Linked DNA regions of Homo sapiens: all the other regions are linked to region 2. Evidence: promoter capture Hi-C in 16 types of primary human blood cells and fetal thymus (Javierre and others, 2016). All regions are on one chromosome and are shown on one strand. Each heading gives the region's core, a stretch centred on a gene start or on the middle of the fragment in contact. The rest is flanking DNA. Distances are from core to core; before and after follow the strand shown.

Region 1 (2,700 bases), core at 138-2,637, 55 kb before region 2:
CACTTTAGCTCAAGAGTTCAAGACCAGCCTGGGCAACATGGTGAAACCTGGTCTCTACAAAAGAAAAAAAAAAACTCAAAAGGACTGCTTTAAGGTCAAATGGAAGAGGAAGAAAGTTCAGTTTCCATTGTCTGGGCCACAGTTCAGCCTTACGGCTATACCCATATGCACACTTGACAGATTAAGAGAAATCTTAACAGATAAAACTGCACAGAATTTTAAATAGCAATACGAAATTATATTTGAAATTTTGGGAAAGATTTTTTTTTAAGTTACATTTTATGTGGAAAGCTCACAAAAAATTTTTTTTTTAGAAACAGGGTCTTACTCTGTCACCCAGGCTGGAGCACAGTGATGCCATCCATCATAGCTCACTGTAGCCTCAACCTCTGGGGCTCAAGTGATCCTCCTGCCTTGGCCTCCCAAGCAGCTGGGGCTACAGGTATGCGCCAGCATACCTGTAATGTAGTGAAAGCTAATTTTTTCACTTTCTGTAGAGGCAGAGTCACCCTGCCCAGGCCAGTCTTGAACTCCTGGCCTCAAGTGATCCCTGGCATTGGCCTTCCAAAGTGCTGGAATTACAGGTTCAAGCCACTGCGCCCAGCTCACAATATATAAATTAAGTGTATTCATTAAAAAATATAGTCATTTGAGGTAATCTTTAAAATCTAAATTTCCTTTTAAATCCTAAAACATTTCCTCGGTAGCACCAAACCACCATCTGCACTTTCTGGTTTGAACTCGACACCCATTCTAGTATGATTAATACTGGGATAATTTGCCAGATTCCCATATACCACTTCATTTCCCAATACAGAGGAAAATGCACTTCCAAGTAGACTGATTTGCAGGAACAGCTCTCAGTATACCATAGTTCCCAAATTAAACACAGGATTAAACAATAAAACCAGATTATCCAAAAATCACTCCAATTTCAACCCAAGACAAAAACAAATCCAATGAGACTAACACTGAATCTTGATTAATACTGAAAAAATATTTATCGAGCTTTTAAAAATATGGTACAGATTGCATATGAAGACATAACATTATACTTATTATTCTTCAGAAACAAGTAAAATTATAATTAAAAACTGATGCAAGATAAAATATCCCTAGTGACCATTTTCAGTTTAGCTTAATGCTAGAAGTGATGGTCCTTACATATAATAGAAGGATTTTTGAAAAGTCATGAGTGCAGTAAGGAAGACAAAAAGATTGCTTACTGGATTGATGCTTTTAAAAATGTTTTGTATGATAGCCAAAATTCAAAGTGTTCTTTCAGATTGTGAGGCAGTTTTGAGTGAAATCATTTTGTTGTTATATGGCACATGTATCAATATGCCTTCCAGAACTATTACATATGAAAAGTAAGCCAAATACATTACTTCTTTTCACGAAGAATTCTCAAGCATCTTGTAGAAGAGGAAATGGTGGTGTGTGCCTCATGGAGCAGGTGTACCTATTGGAATGTATATCTGGAATATTCAATGCGGTGTAAGCTGTCAGGGCTGTCTGGTTATTAATGAAGTCAATGCATGTTTCATTATATTCATAAAGCCTTGCTGTTAAAAAAAAATCTAATGCCTAGAAATGTTTTGAAAATAAAATAATTACCAGCTAAATCTTCAAAACGTATTCCATACAGTTTGAATTTTAAAAAATTTTTAAGTGTTTTATTATTTCATTTCATTTTTGTAGACACAGGGTCTCACTATGTTGCCCAAGCTGATCTCAAACTCCTGGCCTCAAGCTAAAATTTTTTAAATGCCCCTCTCAGATGGAAATTTTTAACATGCTATGTATTAATTTAATTTGGAATGATATCAATAAGTGGAAAAATATATTATATTCATTTCCTGAATATAATTAGGAAGATCAATTATTAAAAAAGATGACAATTATCCCTAATACAGAGATATAATACAATAACGTTTACAGTCCCCAAAGAAATGACTATACAAATTCAAAAACTGGCAGAGAAATTCATGTCTTTGCCCTAAATGAAATTAACTTTCCCTACCTTTCCCTCTTTTATTCTTGCTCTATAATCTCCTCCTATCATCACCAACTACTATAGTTTTAACTACCATCTATATGTTTATAATTTCCAAATCTGTATCTCTATCTACCTCAGAACTCTCCAGCAAGATCCATACTTCTATCAAGTATCGCCTAATGAATATCTACAGCTGAATTCCTCATAGACACCTCAAACTCAACACATCTAAATCATCTTTCCACGTTCCCCCTAAACCTGCTCTCCACCCAGAACTCACAATCTTCACAGTTTTCCAAGTCAGAAATCTGGAAGTCATCCTACATCCCTTCTACCCCTCATTAGATACTCTGTCTTTAGCCTTCTTCTCTCTAATCTCTTTCAAATCTTAAGTGTTATCCCAGCCAAACATTTTTTAATGAGTCCCCACCACCTTTATCCCCTATGGCCTACAAAGGCTTTCAAACTATTAAGCATAAAATATTAATGACCTGGACCTTGAGTAGAAGAGGCAAAATCCCCCTTAGGAGAAGAGGGAAACAGAAAGTCAACTTCATTCAGTGCAAAGATATGAATGATGTTTGCAACCACATCCCACTACTTCATCTTATTTTATATTCCTGGAGTACTCAACTGGAAGGCACTGTGTTAGGTATGTGGCATACATTATGTCATTATTTTACCTAGCCGCCAAGAAGAGA
Region 2 (2,700 bases), core at 196-2,695:
ACTACACTACCTTCTTCCTCCTTCGGCTATTTTTAATTTTTTTTGAAGTCCTATCTTCCATGTAGATTTGTTAAAACATACCACAGAAAACAGCACATACAATTTTTATCATTTGACTTTTAAACATCTTCTTTCTTATTCAATTATAAGCAAGGAAAAATATTCTGAGACTTTACACAAATAGTGTCTCATACCACCTATGAGCCATCTATGCTCAACCCCTACTTCAAAGTTCACAATCTAAGTACTAGTCCTCTTTAACAGAACTCCTTTCCATCACTTTATCCCTACTAGAGAGTGAACAGTGGAAAGTTCCAACTTTTGCAACTCTAGAATGAGGTTATAAATCTAGAGGGAGGAGGAAAACCTGACAGTAGACGCTTGTTCTTTTCACTCCATTCAAGCTCCCATACAGCCTAAAACACTTAAGTTTCAACATGAGCTTCATACGTCCCTGTCCAAAACTTGCTTTCTCAAGCCTCACGCTTTCCAGCTGTAGCAAAGTTTATTTCTGAACAGATTAAATCAGTTGCTAAATAATCTGAAGTCCTCAAACAGAAGGCCATATGAGTATCAAACGAAAAAAACAACATTTGAATCAGCATAAATTCACATGGTATTATGGCATCATTACTAATACACTGAGCAGTATTATTTATTAACTTCAAGTATTAATTAACTTAAAGATGTGATTTTGGAGAAAAACACCAGTGGTGGTCTCTGATTACCAAAGTTAAACATTCTTAAGCACAATCCCTTAAAAAATCCTGCCAGGATCAATGATGTGTTTTTTCTGTTTTAAAGTATCCTGCCAAAAGCTGTGGGTGCTGTGACTTAGGGTCGCAAAAGTGTTGCTTATGTAGTCAGAAGACAGAACGTGCCCTACAAGGCGCTCACATGCCTTAGTAATAGAACGTATATTATCTTCCCAATCCTCTGGCGGCTGCAAATGTGCTCCTTCCACTTCCAGCCACCCCAGCCGTGTTCCAGCTCCGGGAGAAGCAAGGGCTTTAGAATTACCCCCAAATATCTTCCTAAATCCAGGCGAAGGAGGCCCACACTTCTCCACCCTACCTAACGCACCCCTCAAGTGAAACGTTTGGTCTAAGAAAAAAATACCTTGCACCGCTCCACCCAACAGGTGGGAAGGAGAAAGGAATGGACAGCTGAGCGCTGAATCCGAGCCAGGCCTCAAACAGGGCGGGAGAGGGAGGCCGCGGCCAGAGCGCGGCCTGAAACCCGGCAGGCCCCTTTCAGTACCAAGTACCACCCTCTGCCCCAGCTAATTTCAAGGAGCCCGCCCCAGCAGACCTTATGATGGATGCCACTTGATGCCATGAGCCGGAGCCTGTGACGACCTAGCCGAAGATGGCACTTCACCGCCTCCGTCCCCACAGCCAGCACAGCAGCCGCCACCCGCGCCACGGCCGCCTGGTCCAGGGCACGATGCGCATGCGTCAGTGTCCCTGGAGGCGAAAAAGTCACGTGGGTTCGCAGCGCGCAGGCCTGGCCCTCCCAGGGATCCTCGCTGCCCGTGCGGCCCCAGCCCCGCCCCCGCAGCCCCGCCCCGCCCCGCCGCGAGCGAGGGCGGGGACCGCTGCGCCTACCTGCCTTTCCCTCCATAGGGACTTCCCAAAGGAAAGGAGGGCGTTTAGGGGCTTTCACACGCCTGATCTTAAACACAGCGCCCTGACCCCTCCCCACCAAAAACGGCAAAATGTCATTTTTGGGGGCAAATCTAAGGTTTTCCCTACAATTGTTCAAGCTTTCACACTAAAACATTTACCTAAAAACGGGCAGAAATTCAGCCTTAAACCCACAAATCTCACGATGGTATAGACCCTGGGCCCACTCAGGTTTCCTGAAAACTAAACAGTTCTGGAGTTAGGGGTTTGGAGAACGGGCTATTGTTAAAGAAAAAAGTATTTAGTGACACTTGTTAAAGCACAAAAAGAGGGCTTTATTCAGGACCATCGCAACAGGTATAGGGACCACTGACTGCAATGGAGACTTGCAGTAGGGAAAGAGATATTGGGCTCAACTCCTCATACAGCATGGGCAAGTGGAGATTTATAGCCAAGGAGCGGTGGTAAGTGAATGTATAATTACTAAGAGGAAACATCAGGGTAAGGGGGATTTTGGCTAAACCCACCTAATAGGATTTTTGCTGAAGACAGGCCAAGATAATGAGGCATCACCTGGGGGATGGTGGAGACTGAAGAACCTGATCAGATATTGAGGATGATCAGCTATCAAGGATGGGGGTTTATTGCTAATCTGACTTAGCAAAGTTCTTTGCTTAAACTGGATTTTACAAAGAAAGTGTACAGAAGAGCCTAGCAGAAGATTCAGAAACCTGACTAAAGTTGGCCAAGCAAAAAAAAAAATCTTTGTATCTGAAGGGATATGTTATCCTCTGGACAAATTGAGGGGGACTGTGCGTTAACAATCTTAGCAGTCCTCTTCAGTTGTACCACCATCTCCACTTTAATAAAAAAAAATTTTCTTTCAAATCTGGCCTCTCTCCCTTTAAGATTCTGTTACATTGGTGCCCCCGCATTCACCTGTCACTTACCATGTAATCTGTTGTTCCAGGTGCATTAGTATTACTACTGGGCTCCAAGTTCCTCATCTGAAATCTGTCTCCTCTGGAAATACTTATTTACAAGACGACGTTTCTTGTCACAACGCAGGTTAATC
Region 3 (2,700 bases), core at 136-2,635, 49 kb after region 2:
CTGTTAAATCCAATTAAACCTATTTTTCTTCTCCTCTTGGATATGTCTTTATCAGCAGCATGAAAACGGACTAATACAAAAATGAAAACCACAGTTGCACATCTACAAGGAAGACAATTCTTCCAAACAATGAGCTTCTAAGAAAATTGAAAGAAGAGATCACATCCCTGGCTGATACTTTGATTTCAGCCTAGTGGTATTTTGAGCAAAGAGCTGAGTTAACTTATATCTGATCTCTTGACCCAGAAAACTGAGAGTTAATCAATTTGTGTGGTTTGAATCCACTGAGTTTGTGGCAATTTGTTACATAACAATATAAAATAAATACTCTCATTAATATTCTTTGCTTTGAAATATACTTTGATATTAATATGGCCATGTAATCTATCTTTTGATTAGTGTTAGCATGGTATACATCTTTTTGAATCTCTACTTTTAACTTATTTGTATCTATATATTTAAACAGAATTTCTTATAGGTAGCATATAGTTGGGTCTTGCTTTTTAATCTAATCTCACTAGGGTGTTTAGTTCATCTACATTTAATGTGATTAGATGATTGGGTTTAAGTCTATCATCTTGCTGTTTGTTTTCTATTTGTCCCATCTTTTCTTTATAATTATTTTTATAGTTATATTTTATCTCCTTTGTTGCCTTGGTAAAGCAATACTGCCATGTCTTCCCTTTGGGCCTTTGTATCAAACTGTCAGACATTTTGCTTCTTTTAAAACTTTTTTTTTTTTTTTTTTTTTTTTTTTAGAGACAAGGTCTTGTTCTGTTGCTCAGGCTGCAGTGTAGTGGCACAATCACAGCTCACTGCAGCCTCGAACCCCTGGATTCAGGCAATCCTTCTGCCTCAGCCTCCTGATTAGCTGGGACTACAGAAACACATCACTGCATCCAGATTTTAAATTTTTTTTCTTTCTTTTTTTTTTTTTTTCTAGAGATGAGGTCTTGCTATATTGCAAAGGCTGGTCTTTAACTTCTGGGCTCAAGCAATCTTCCTGGCTTGGCCTCATAAAGTGCTGGGATTACAAGTGTGAGCCACCATGCCTGGCCCACTACTTTTATTTTTGAAAGATATTTTCATTGGATATAGAATTCTAGATTGACAGTTTGTTTTTCCTTTCAGTACTTTAAAGATCTCACTGAACTGTTTTTTGGTTTGCAGTGTATTTGATGAGTAGTCTGATCTTTGTTCTATATGTAATGTCTTGCCCCTAGCTATTTTTAAGATTTTCTCCATCCCTAATTTTAGGCCTTTTGATTATATCTCCTTTGAAATATTTCTTTTCATGTTTCTTGTGTTTGGTGTTCACTGAACTTCTTAGATCTTTGGGTTTATAGTTTTCATCCAATTTGAACAAATTTTGTCCATTTTTTTCTACAAATATTCTTTTCTGTCTCCTTCTCTGTCTGGTAACTCCAATTACACATAACTTGAAGTTGTCCCACAATTGACAGATTTTTTGGACTTTTTTTTCAGTCTTGTTTCTCTCATTGTTTCATTTTGATTTTTTTTTTTTACTTGAGACAGAGTCTCACCCTGTTGCCCAGGCTGGGTGCAGTGGTACGATCTCAGCTCACTGCAACCTCCGCCTCCCGGGTTTAAGCGATTCTCCTGCCCCAGTCGCCCCAGTAGCTGGGACTACAGGTGTGCATCACCACACCCAGCTAATTTTTGTATTTTTGGTAGACACAGGATTTTGCCTTATTGGTCAGGCTTCATTGTTTCATTTTGAATAGTTTCAATGGTTACGTCTTCAACTTCACTAATCTTTTCTTCTGGAATGTCTAACCTATTAATCTCATCCAGTGTATTTCCTATCTCAGACATTATAGCTTTCATCTGTAGATATTAGTTTTGGGTTTCTTATATATATTATATCTCTTTACTTGCTCAACCTTTCCTCCAGCCTCTTTAATGCATGCAGTAGTTACAGTTACAATGTCTTTGTCTACTAATTCTATCACCTGTGTCATTTTTGCATTGGTTTCACTTGGCTTTTTTTCTTCTCACTATTGGTTATATTTTCCTGCTTCTCTGCATGCCTGGTAATTTCACTTTAGCTATTTTTGTATTCCTATAAATATTCTTCAGCTTTGTTCTGGGATATAGTTATTTGAAAATGTATTTCAAATAAGGATCAAATGTTTGATCATCTTAGGCCTTGCTTTTAAACTTCATTGGGTAGGAACCAAACTAACATTCAGTCTATGGTTTATTTTACTACACTATGGAGCAAAACTCTGAGTATTCTACCCAATGCCCTGTGAATTATGAACTTTTCCACTCTGCTGGTGGGAACAGGAAGTATTATTAACATTGTATATGCTCCTGACATTGTTCCTTGTAACTTTTTTGAGTGGTTCTTGTTCTGGCCTCAGGAAATGTATTTACATGCATGCCCCGACCAGTTGTCTGCTAAACATTTGAGTAAAATCCTCTTATGATCTCTGGAGCTCTCTGTGGAGCTCTATCTGGCATTCTGTCCTGCAAAGTCTAGTCACCATGGCCTCCTCAAACTCTCAGCACCATGTCCATCTCTGATGCTATCTGCCTGTTTTCCCTCCCTTTAGCTGCAACCTGGAAACTCTCTCCAGAAAGCAAGCTGGGTAATTGTAGGGCTCACCTGGTTTGTTTCCTGTCTCTCAGAGATCAACATCTTTCCATAGCCTGGTGAACAGTGTCTTGAAAACT

Evidence for each region. The method cuts DNA at HindIII sites, captures the fragments that hold promoters and counts their contacts. A CHiCAGO score of 5 or more calls a contact.
Region 1: a fragment that was not itself captured here is called in contact with the fragment with the promoter of PRPF39 in region 2 in 12 of 17 cell types (activated CD4 T cells, non-activated CD4 T cells, monocytes and 9 more); the score reaches 17.7 in activated CD4 T cells.
Region 3: a fragment that was not itself captured here is called in contact with the fragment with the promoter of PRPF39 in region 2 in 1 of 17 cell types (activated CD4 T cells); the score reaches 5.0 in activated CD4 T cells.

Annotation. Positions count from the first base shown.
Region 1 is chr14:45,137,602-45,140,301 of GRCh38, reverse strand. The region is part of intron 2 of FANCM (FA complementation group M); the gene reads right to left. Among named protein-coding and RNA genes, the nearest start is that of FANCM, 3.0 kb to the right of the region's middle. The HindIII fragment of the contact is 3,673 bases long and covers 1-2,700 here.
Region 2 is chr14:45,082,861-45,085,560 of GRCh38, reverse strand. It overlaps PRPF39 (pre-mRNA processing factor 39), which reads right to left and starts at 1,445. Exons shown (of 14, transcript NM_017922.4): 1 at 1,312-1,445. PRPF39-DT (PRPF39 divergent transcript) reads left to right here and starts at 1,535. Exons shown (of 2, transcript NR_184211.1): 1 at 1,535-2,089; 2 at 2,174-2,513. RefSeq lists a silencer at 1,451-1,740. The HindIII fragment of the contact is 5,294 bases long and covers 1-1,767 here.
Region 3 is chr14:45,034,188-45,036,887 of GRCh38, reverse strand. All of the region lies in intron 11 of TOGARAM1 (TOG array regulator of axonemal microtubules 1), which reads right to left. Among named protein-coding and RNA genes, the nearest start is that of PRPF39-DT, 48 kb to the left of the region's middle. The HindIII fragment of the contact is 6,169 bases long and covers 1-2,700 here.